Regions from separate parts of the Homo sapiens genome. Here all the other regions are linked to region 2. Evidence: promoter capture Hi-C in human tissues and cell types (Jung and others, 2019). All regions are on one chromosome and are shown on one strand. Each heading gives the region's core, a stretch centred on a gene start or on the middle of the fragment in contact. The rest is flanking DNA. Distances are from core to core; before and after follow the strand shown.

Region 1 (3,462 bases), core at 291-2,790, 350 kb after region 2:
TCAGCCTCCCCAGTATCTGGGATTACAGGCATCCGCCACCACACCCAGCTAATTTTTGTATTTTAGTAGAGACAGGGTTTCACCATGTTGGCCAGGTAGGTCTCCAACTCCTGACCTCACGTGATCCACCAGCCTCAGCCTCCCAAAGTGCTGGGATTACAGGCGTGAGCCACGGCGCCCAGTCAGAAAAACAGAGAGTTTTTTGTTCTGGTTTTGTTTTTTTGAGACAGAGGCAGGTGATCTTCCTGCCTTGGCCGCCCAAAGTGCTAGGATTACAGGTGTGAGCTACTGCACCTGGCCAACAGAGAGCTTTTTAATGCTAAATCTTATTTTCCTAAAACACACAGACATACACACACACACACAACTTCAGTTAGAAACAATATACACTCTTTCTATTCTTACTAGCCCATCAGCCCACTTTAAAGAAATCAGTCAGGCCCGGTGCAGTGGCTCATGCCAGTACTCCCAGCACTTTGGGAGGCCAAGGTGGGCTGATTGAGCTCAGGAGTTTGAGACTAGCCTGGGCAACAGAGCGAAACCCAACTCTACAAAAAAGGACAAAAATTAGCTGGGCATGATGGTGTGCACATGTAGTCCCAGCTACTTAGGAGGCCAAGGTGGGGAGGATGGCTTGAACCTGGGAGGTGGAGGCTGCAGTGAGTTGAGATCACACCACTGCACTCCAGCCTGGGTGACAGACCCAGACTGTCTCAAACACAAAACAAAACAAAATAAGGAAATCAGTCTAAGGAATAGTAAGAGACAAAAGATATGTTTATTAAAGTTATACTAGTATTCATAAGATTTAACATATTTCAATCTTAAAAGCACTTACTTTGTTAAATGAGTTTGAATCTCGTGAAGTAATACCTAGGTTACCTTTACTTTACAAGACAAGTGAGAGTGCAAAACAAAAAGAAATTTGGATTCACTTGTTCATTTGTTATCAGACTAAGGAATTGTCAATCTCATGGAATTTACACACATGGAAGTCATAATGATTTCTTTTGTAGCTGTGAGATTTTGTGATCATTTTAGCAATATTTGTGTGTCTGTGTGTGTGTGAAATGAAACACACACAAATGAAATTACTGGCTCATGTATTGAATGAAGCATTACGGTTCCAGGAGTTTTCATTGTAAATATCAACAAATAAACCTATGTTCTTCCCATCCAATACAAAAAAAAAAGTTCTCTTGTTTTCTGGTGTATAGTTTTCTTCTGATACCTCAGATTTGTATAAGGCTTCTGCTCAGTATACGTGCTGCCAAAGTGAGCAAAAGGCTTCTGCTCAGAAGTGAGCCACTTCACTAGCAAACTATTCAGGAAGCCAACAAATGTTAGTGTTCTCAATGCAACTGTTCCACTCACTGGAATTGTGATCCTCCTCCTGTTCCACAGCATATAATAGTAAACAACATAATATTCAGAAATAGCCTGTACCTTATTCAGCACACACCCACCCATTATTTTCTATAATATATGGAATTTTTATTTATTTATTTATTTATTTATTTATTTATTTATTTATTTATGTTTGAGACAGAGTCTTGCTCTGTTGCCCAGGCTGGAATGCAGTAGCACAATTTCAGCTCACTGCAACCTCTGCCTCCCAAGTTCAAGCGATTCCCCTGCCTCTGCCTCCCAAGTAGTTGGGATTACAAGCACCTGCCACTACAACTGGCTAATTTTTTTATTTTTAGTAGCGACAGGGTTTCACCATGTTGGCCAGGCTGGTCTTGAACTCCTGACCTCAGATGATCCACCCACCTCCGCCTCCCAAAGTGCTGGGATTACAGGCGTGAGCCCCCACGCCCAGCCTGAAAATTTATTAAGATAACCATCTCCTCACTTGTAACAGTCTGACCAAAATTTAAATTAGAAGGACTTGCCCTTCAGAAGTTTATATGCCTTTTCGACAGGGCGTGGTAGCTCACACCTGTAATCCCAGCACTTTGAGAGGCAGAGGCAGGCAGATCTCTTGAGGTCAGGAGTTCGAGACCAGCCTGGGCAACTTGGTGAGACACCTGCCCCCACCACCACCTCCATTTCTACAAAAAATTAGCCGGACATGGTGGGGCAGGTTGTGATGGTGCCTCTGTACTCCAGCCTGGGCGATGAATTGAAATCCTGTCTCAAAATTTTTTTTAATCATTAAAAAAAAAAAAAAAGAAGTTTACATACCTTTTCATTTGTTCTTTCCTTCTCCATAGAAATACAGGTCTTTTTACGAGCAGGTTAAACATGGAAAGTGCTCTGTACTTGTTTTAGTCAATCCAAAATACCTAACGTTAAGTGTTCTTCATTGTTAAAATTTACTATTCAGAATGCACCACAGCCAGGCCAGGTGCAGTGGCTCACCTGTGCCTGTAATCCCAGCACTATGGGAGGCCAAGGAGGGCAGATCATCTGAGGTCAGGAGTTTGAGACCAGCCTAGGCAAAATGGCGAAATCTCATCTCTACAAAAGCTTAGCTGGGCATGATGGCACGTGCCTGTAGTCCCAGCTACTGGAGAGCCTGAGGTGGAAGGATCACCTAAGCCTGGGAGGTCGAGGCTGCAGTGAGCCGTGATGGCGCCACTGCACTCCAGCCTGGGTTACAAAGTGAGACCCTGCCTCAAAAATAAAAATAAAAATAAAAAATAAATAGAATACACCACTACTAATCCTGCCCAACCAGAATTTCCACTCAACACCAATAAAAATTTGAATATCAATTCCCAACCTGAAGTCCCTTAACCCTTCCAGAAGGGAAGGGAATCAATACTTGGTAAGCATTTAATACAGATCCCTAAAAAAGCATAATAGGTGTCCTGGAAATATGCCCAACATTTCAAAAAAGCGGAATACAAATTACACATATGCTGAAGTAAAATTCCGCAGGCTATTAATAAATGCAGACTGGTAAATCTTTCAAGGTATTATTTCACCACAATATTCCTCTAAATGGGTCCTCCTCTGGTACTTATTCAAAAGATATATAATATGATGCTATGTACTGTAATGGATCGTGCACAAAATCCTACTGAAATACAATGGAAGGAGGAATTAGTTCTGCCTAGAAAGACTTCACAGAGGGAATATCTCAGCAGAATCTGGAAGGATAATTCAGCTCTGTGGGCTGCAGATGCGTCTAAGTGTGTTTCTGGTTACAAAAATTCATAGAATTGAATTTGGATAAGTCTTTAAAGATCACCTAGTCCTGAGGCTTTCCACCTTTATTTTAAACTAATAACATCTTTTCTTCAAAAGTCTAATTGAAACTCCAGTATATAAAACAGGTAATATGGAAGAACTGCTCTTCTGAAAGGGGAGGGTTATTGAAAAACACTGCTGTTCTAACCAACCCCCTTCGTTTTTAAAATAAGCTGAGACACTAAGAAGGACAATGACTTGGCAAAAGCCATATAAAGACAAAAACGCAACAATTTTCAAAGAACAACTCTTAAGCATTATCTA
Region 2 (3,285 bases), core at 248-2,747:
ATCAAAAAAACTGGGAAATAGACTTTCCTTATGACACTTAGAATTCCTGCAAACACGGGTTAGTTATTTTACATGAAGCATGTACGTGACTCCTGGTTTCTGAGAAAACATTTTTTTCTCTCTATCCTACAGTGCTAGGCAAAGCACCCCAAAGCCTCTTGATTTTAAACACAGAAAACTCCACTGCCGAAATGTTTGCCCTATCCCAGCGCTAAAGCCTTAGAAGCACCGACGAATCTAGGCCAAGGAGTACAAGATGGCAGTGAGATACCACAATGCAGGCAAGGAAGACGGGATGGGCCCCAATCGGGAAGCACGCGCCACCAGCTCTGGAGAGAACCGTCTGAGGAGACGCGGGGGAGAGTTTGGGTCACAGGAGCAGGAAGGAACTGGCAGGTGTCTGTCACCTTATCATCCCGGACACCATGTTTACATTGTAATTGGCTTCTTTACAGAGAGGGAGGGACCAGGTTCCCAGTGTGAGTGATGTTTAGAGGTTTTCTGAGAAGCACAAGGACTGGACTTTGACAGGAAGCAACGAGGCAAGAGGGAAGCTCGAGAACAGGTTTTGCTGAGGATTCCCCCCAAGAAAAGTGCTCCCCGGGAGGCCGTTCCTGGCACCAAGACTGGCGGAGCCACCACACCCGTTAAAGGGATCCACCTGGACAGCGATCAGGCGTGAGCCCCCCGAGGGGAAGTTGAAGTGGAAGCAGACGTGGGTGGCAAAAGGCTGCATTGGGGGTCTGACCCAGAAGGAAACCTGATCAGGAGGGGGGAGAGGCTGAACGGAGGAAGGGGCCGGCAGAGTGGGTAGTTGAGTAGGATGAGACTTCTTTGGAGGCGAGGCTAACTACATTAAACTCTGGGAAGGGAGGGCTTCCGTCGGACCCTGGGAGAAAGGCAGGTCTGGAGAGGAAAGACTGGCTTGGGGGGCCTGCGCGTCCGGCTCTGGAAGGCAACTCCTACTGGGGGCGGCGCGCAGCCGGCCTGGCGGGCGAGCCTCGTGCGGCCCGGGGGTGCGGCCGGCCCGCGCGAGCTCAACAGGAGCTCACCTGGGATGCGTGCGGCCCTGTGGGAGGAAACTTCCTGGGTAGGTGAAAGCTGCCCCGCGGGAGCCGGCCCGGCACCGGCAGAGCGCGGCCGGGTCACAGTCCACTCGGCAGCGGCGCGGAGGGCGGCGAGGGCCGCGCGGGGCGGGGCAGGAGGCGCCCGACGACCCTGGGCGAGGTCGCGGCGGCCGCAGGGGGGCTCCGGCTCCGGAGGGCGCCCTCCCGCAGTCGCACCCGCTTTCCCTCACACACACCGGCCGCCCGGCCCACAAGCCAAGAAGCTGCCTGCTTGGCCCACAAGCCAAGAAGTCGGCGAAGCTGAGGGCGGTGGGGGAGGGGGCACCGGCCGGCCAAGCCCGGCGGACGGGCGTGTGGCGTTACCTGTGTCAGAGAGAGCTGGGCCGCCGCAGCCATGGTGTTTCCATCATGCAAGGGAGGGGAAGGAAGACGGGCTGACTGGGGCTCGGGGCGGGGAGGAGGCGGAGGGAGCGGCCGCAGGCGAGGCCGGGGCGGGCGGGCGGGCGTCTCCCCTAACTTCCACAACTTCCCTCCCCACGCCCGCCCCGCCCCGCCTGGCCCCGCCCGCCTGCCCGCCCGCCGGAGCCGGCCGCGGCGCCGCCCAAACCCTGGCGCCGGAGTCTCGGCCACCGGACCAGAGCCTGCCCCCGGGGCCGCCTTGGAAAACCCGGCGCGGACATAAAATTAAAGCGGACGGGCTGCGGAGGCGACTGCAGATTGACCTGTGAACTTCAGACAGGCCACCTACCTACGCTGAGCTCCTGCTTCTGAAAAATGGGGGAAATTGTAACTAGAGGCCCAGTTACTTACAAAGACTAAATGAGATAATGATAGAAAATAATAATGGCACTTTATATATGCCAGGCTCTGTACTAGACTCTTATTTTTTGAATTGTATGAATGAAGGAACTGAAACACAAATAAGTGTCTTACTAAGGTCATACAGCTAATTATATAGCTGAATTAGAATCCAAGTCTAACTGTAAATATTTAACCATCTGCTAGTATATTGGAAAAGAAGACATTAAGTCATTCCCTCCCACAGCCAAAATCCATTTGGAAAGGGGAAGCAAAAATGTATTTGCCTGGTGCCTGTCACATTTAGATTGTTTAACAAGGGAACGCTGGTGCCTGTAGCACTCCTAGCTTCTCCCATCATCCACTTAGCAAACTCCTCCTTCTTTCTCAGGACATAATTCAAGTTTCACCTCCTTTGCAAAGTATCTTTTTCTCTTCCTTATGTCAGAGTTACACACTCTCCTTTATAACCTTTCTTCTCTACCTTGTGAAGTCATCACCCTAATGACAGTTTACACCTATCTATCCCTCTAGATTAAGAGCTCCTCAATGGCAAGAACTGTTTTCAATATATTTCTATATCGTCAGACCCTAGCATTACAGTGCATGCTCAGTAAAGGCCTTCGTTCCTGCCTATATTAAACATAACACATCCTACACCTTCTGATGCTGCCAACCTTCAGTTGGAATACCCAGTTACTTGAAATTCATCTTCAAAGTCTCAGAGTATATACCACCTACTTCAAGAAGCCTTCTAGGAACTCCACACCCCACCTCTAAGTTGTTCTGATGTGACCGTTTTTATACTCTGCCTTATCTGTAAGCGTTAGTTGAGGGTTTGTCTCCACCTCACTGCACTGTAAAATCCTTGAGGACAAGGGGCTGACTCACTGCTTTATCTCCCTCATAGTTTAGCCTACCACAGAGGCCTCAATAAATGTATTTGCCCGAATTGGTCTTAATTTCTTAGTCACGATGGCTTCCCATTACAACAAACCACAACTCTATCAGGCCTACACCCATTACCATTATCATAGCAGTCCCCGTGGTAGGAGGGACAACTGAACAAGACCCAGGATGGAGTTAGCCCCACCTAAGTTTTTAGACTATTGCCTCCACAAGCAAACCATTCCAGAAATTTCCCAAGGAACTCCTAATTCTACTCAGACTCCTTCTGGCAAAGGCCAGCTAACAAGAGCAAGCCATATAGGTCTGGTGAGTAACCACTTATTCAAGAGCATCTTCCTTGGCTTCTTTTTTGCTGCTAATCTCTTTAACTGAAGAGAGAATAAGAGATACTGTTTTACATTACTTCACTTTGGTACACTTATCAGCCATAACCACAACCGGTGTTTCTACCGGTGTTTTCTACTTTATATTAGCACATTTGAGCTTCACAACTCTAAAAGGAAGTAATCGT
Region 3 (3,307 bases), core at 551-3,050, 320 kb after region 2:
TGTTAATTTATCAAACTTTTAAAATCAAGAACAACTTCTTTTGGGAGGAGGAAAACGGAGAGGGATAAAAAAGATGCCTCAGAAAAGTAGTTAACTTCTTAATTAGGTAAATGTTATTCAAAAAACGATCAAATATCTTTCTTCTCAATTCCTTTATTAATTCTCACATTTACCTTAAACAAGTTTCACACATTTTTCAAATAAAACTTAGATCATAAAACCACTCTTAAGCCACCTCTTACCAAGGCTAATCTACTTTATTTCCTTTTTTCAGAGAGTTATTCAACAAATATAAACATTTACCACTTACGATCGTGGGATCTTTCCTTTCACTAGTGAACCCATTGCTTCTGAATCAAAACAATTTCTCGTCTTCAAACTACTTAGGTTCCACTGTCCCGGTAGGATAATCCATAAAATTAGCTGTCAATATCTTATAAGGATTATATCACACTGAGTTCTCAGAAAAGAAAGGTAGCATCTAAGCCATTTTAAAAACGATCACTAGACTCTGACCCTGCTGCTAGAAAAGATCAACTTAGAATTTGATCTACCTAAGCAAAATAAAAAGGGGTACCAAAAAGGCTGAACAGACATGTTCATTTGTCAAAGGTGTTCACAATTGCTGTATAAATCTAAAGTATTTTATAATGTCTTGACATTTAAAATGCCTGTCGAGACAATTTTTAACTGTTTTTAAATGCTTTGTCAGTTAATAGGAAATATAAACAAGTCAGATCATGGGAAAAGCTACTTACAGATAGATGGAAAGATATAGAAAAAAAGTATAGATAAGAAGTATTCAGTTAAGAAGTTATAACATGGTCTGGCTTAGAGCTAAAATAGGCCTCAGAATTTTATATTCTTGTTTTAAAACTGAGAAAAAAAAGAAAGAAAATGAAAACACCTAAAATCACGCAGAAAGAAAGGAACAGAGCCAGAAGTAGAACCCAGGTTTCCTGACTGTCAGTGTTCTTTTTTTTTGTGACTTTTATAATTTCTTCCTATTAATGCTCTATTTGGAATTATGAGATCTATTTTAAGTTAAAAGTGAATCTATTAATTTCCAATCTGTTCATAGAGACCTTAGCATACAGACTATCAAGTGACATATATATACCTTTTTTTCCCCCAGTGTTTTGATGTTCATCTCTACAGCCTTCCAAGTTAAAACTATTTAATACTTGGTCTATCATGCTACCCAAAAACAGGATCACTAATAATCTGAGTAGTAAACAGGAAAAAGCTTCTTAAAAATATTACTCAATCCAACAACTTAGTAAAAAACTGGTACAATCTTTCTTTTTAAAAAATAATTTTTTCCAAGAAGAATAACTATTAAATCATATCTACTACTTATACCTCAACTCTTCCCACCTTTAAGGGTGACCACTTTTTTTCTTTTTCTTTTTTTTTTTTTTTTTGAGACAAAGTCTCACTCTGTTGGCCAGGGTGGAGTGCAGTGGTGTAATCAAAGCTCACTGCAACCTTAACCTCCCTGGGCTCAGGTGATCCTCCCATCTTCAGCCTGTCAAGTAGCTGGAACCACAGGCATGTGCCACCACACCCAGCTAATTTTTTTTAATGTTTTAGAGAGACAGGGTTTCACCACATTACCTAGGCTAGTCTCAGAACTCCTGGACTCAAGTGATCTGCCCATCTCGGCCTCTTTGTATGTAGACTGTACCATGTTGAATATATTATCAATATTCAAGAAACTAGCTTTAACTAACTTTTGCTGGTCAATTCCACTGTACTGGCTCCGAAAATTATCCTCTGGGTACTCCCTACTATGAAAATGGAGGTATTCTTCAAAAGATATTAAGAAATTCTCCCTATCAAGACTTATTTATCTATCCACTGATGGTTGTTACATATTAAATAAGCTTAACTGCCCAGTTTCTATTTCAACTCTTCCAAAGTACTTATTTGTCCAGACCTTTGCGTTCCCATATAAAGTGCTAAATCAAACTCAATTATCTAATTATCTATATAGAAGCCACCCATACAATAACTCTTAGAGCCCTAGGCCCATGTAAAGATTTCACACTAGCCCCATTCTTTTCTTCTTCTTTTTCCAGTCTCACCAAGGATAACATACTCTTATTTCTCTAATCCAGGCTAAGAATTCTGCAGCTCCTCATCTACCAGTATTTGTTTTTAAAACATATAATGTATACAAATACACATAAATTCAAATACCTCTGAGTGTTGATTACCTCTGAGAGATATAGCTATGGGTGATTTTTATATTTTTGTTTTCTTTATATTCCATTAGTTTATATAATGAGCATTTACTACTTTTATAATTGGAGGAAAATGTTTTCAAAATGTAATCCTGATACAGAATAGACCTTTACTGAAGACCAAAAGATAACTATATACTTCCTTTTTGCCATTAAAAAATAAAGCTTGAGTTTAGAAGTTACCCAAAGAATTCCCAAATTAGAAGAAAACAGACATGACTCGCACCTGTTTTTCAGTAGTTTTTTTTCTAGCTTCTGCTCTCTCTTCTAATTCTTCCAATTCATTATCCTCAGTATCAAGATCATCATCATGTTCATCATCAAACTCATCTTCATCATCAAAACCCTCTTCATCGTCATCTTCTATTTCAGCTCCAGAATCTTCATCATCATCTTCTTCTTCTTCCTCCACCTCCTCTTCTTCTTCATCATCTGTTGTATTTCCTGTTTTACCTTCCATATTACTTAGGTCTGAAATCAGAAGTGCCTGCAAGCCATTCTGTAATTTGATGTATCTGGGGGGAGAAAAAAAAAATCACACATTTTGATTCAGCTGTTCTTTACACCAATACAAGTAATCAGCTTAGCAGAATTTTAAAAAAAGAATCCAAGTAAAAGTACAAACACACACACACACAACTATTTGTAAACTAATAAAATTGGTTGCTCTGGAGAGGGAACCCCAAAAGCTAATCAGTTTTTGAACAGCTGGAGGGAAATGAAGGTAAGAACACTTCATAATATACGCTGTTTGTATTTTTAAATTTTGAACTACATAAATATATTTACCTATTCAAAAAACACATTTTAGTAGCTAAAGATATGCAACTCACCACTCAGCCTCCCCTATTTCTCAGTTTGTAAGTATTTAAACATTCTATCATACCAGAAGACTTAGGCTAAGATAAATTGTATCCCTCAATATACAGAACAGTCATGTCAGCTTAATATTAAAGCAAAATCACACAAAATTAAACTGCTGATTTTCTTTTCTATAAAATGTTTGACATATCAGTCTCCAAAGCTGCCTTTATGAACTAAAAAGTGGTTATATCTCTATG

What was found. The method cuts DNA at HindIII sites, captures the fragments that hold promoters and counts their contacts. A contact is called where the count stands out against the background at its distance.
Region 1: a fragment that was not itself captured here is called in contact with the fragment with the promoter of EPS15 in region 2 in 1 of the 25 tissues and cell types used here (liver).
Region 3: a contact is called between a fragment that was not itself captured here and the fragment with the promoter of EPS15 in region 2, in 1 of the 25 tissues and cell types used here (aorta).

The regions. Positions count from the first base shown.
Region 1 is chr1:51,871,987-51,875,448 of GRCh38, forward strand. All of the region lies in intron 1 of NRDC (nardilysin convertase), which reads right to left. Among named protein-coding and RNA genes, the nearest start is that of NRDC, 5.0 kb to the right of the region's middle. The HindIII fragment of the contact is 5,458 bases long and covers 1-3,462 here.
Region 2 is chr1:51,517,769-51,521,053 of GRCh38, forward strand. EPS15 (epidermal growth factor receptor pathway substrate 15) reads right to left here and starts at 1,498. Exons shown (of 25, transcript NM_001981.3): 1 at 1,431-1,498. The coding sequence starts at 1,463. EPS15-AS1 (EPS15 antisense RNA 1) reads left to right here and starts at 504. Exons shown (of 5, transcript NR_183651.1): 1 at 504-678. It also overlaps a transcript of OSBPL9 not described here. RefSeq lists an enhancer at 753-1,681 and silencers at 912-1,381, 1,532-1,721. The HindIII fragment of the contact is 17,142 bases long and covers 1-3,285 here.
Region 3 is chr1:51,837,754-51,841,060 of GRCh38, forward strand. NRDC (nardilysin convertase) reads right to left here. Exons shown (of 31, transcript NM_001101662.2): 2 at 2,473-2,761. Among named protein-coding and RNA genes, the nearest start is that of MIR761, 3.0 kb to the left of the region's middle. The HindIII fragment of the contact is 3,482 bases long and covers 60-3,307 here.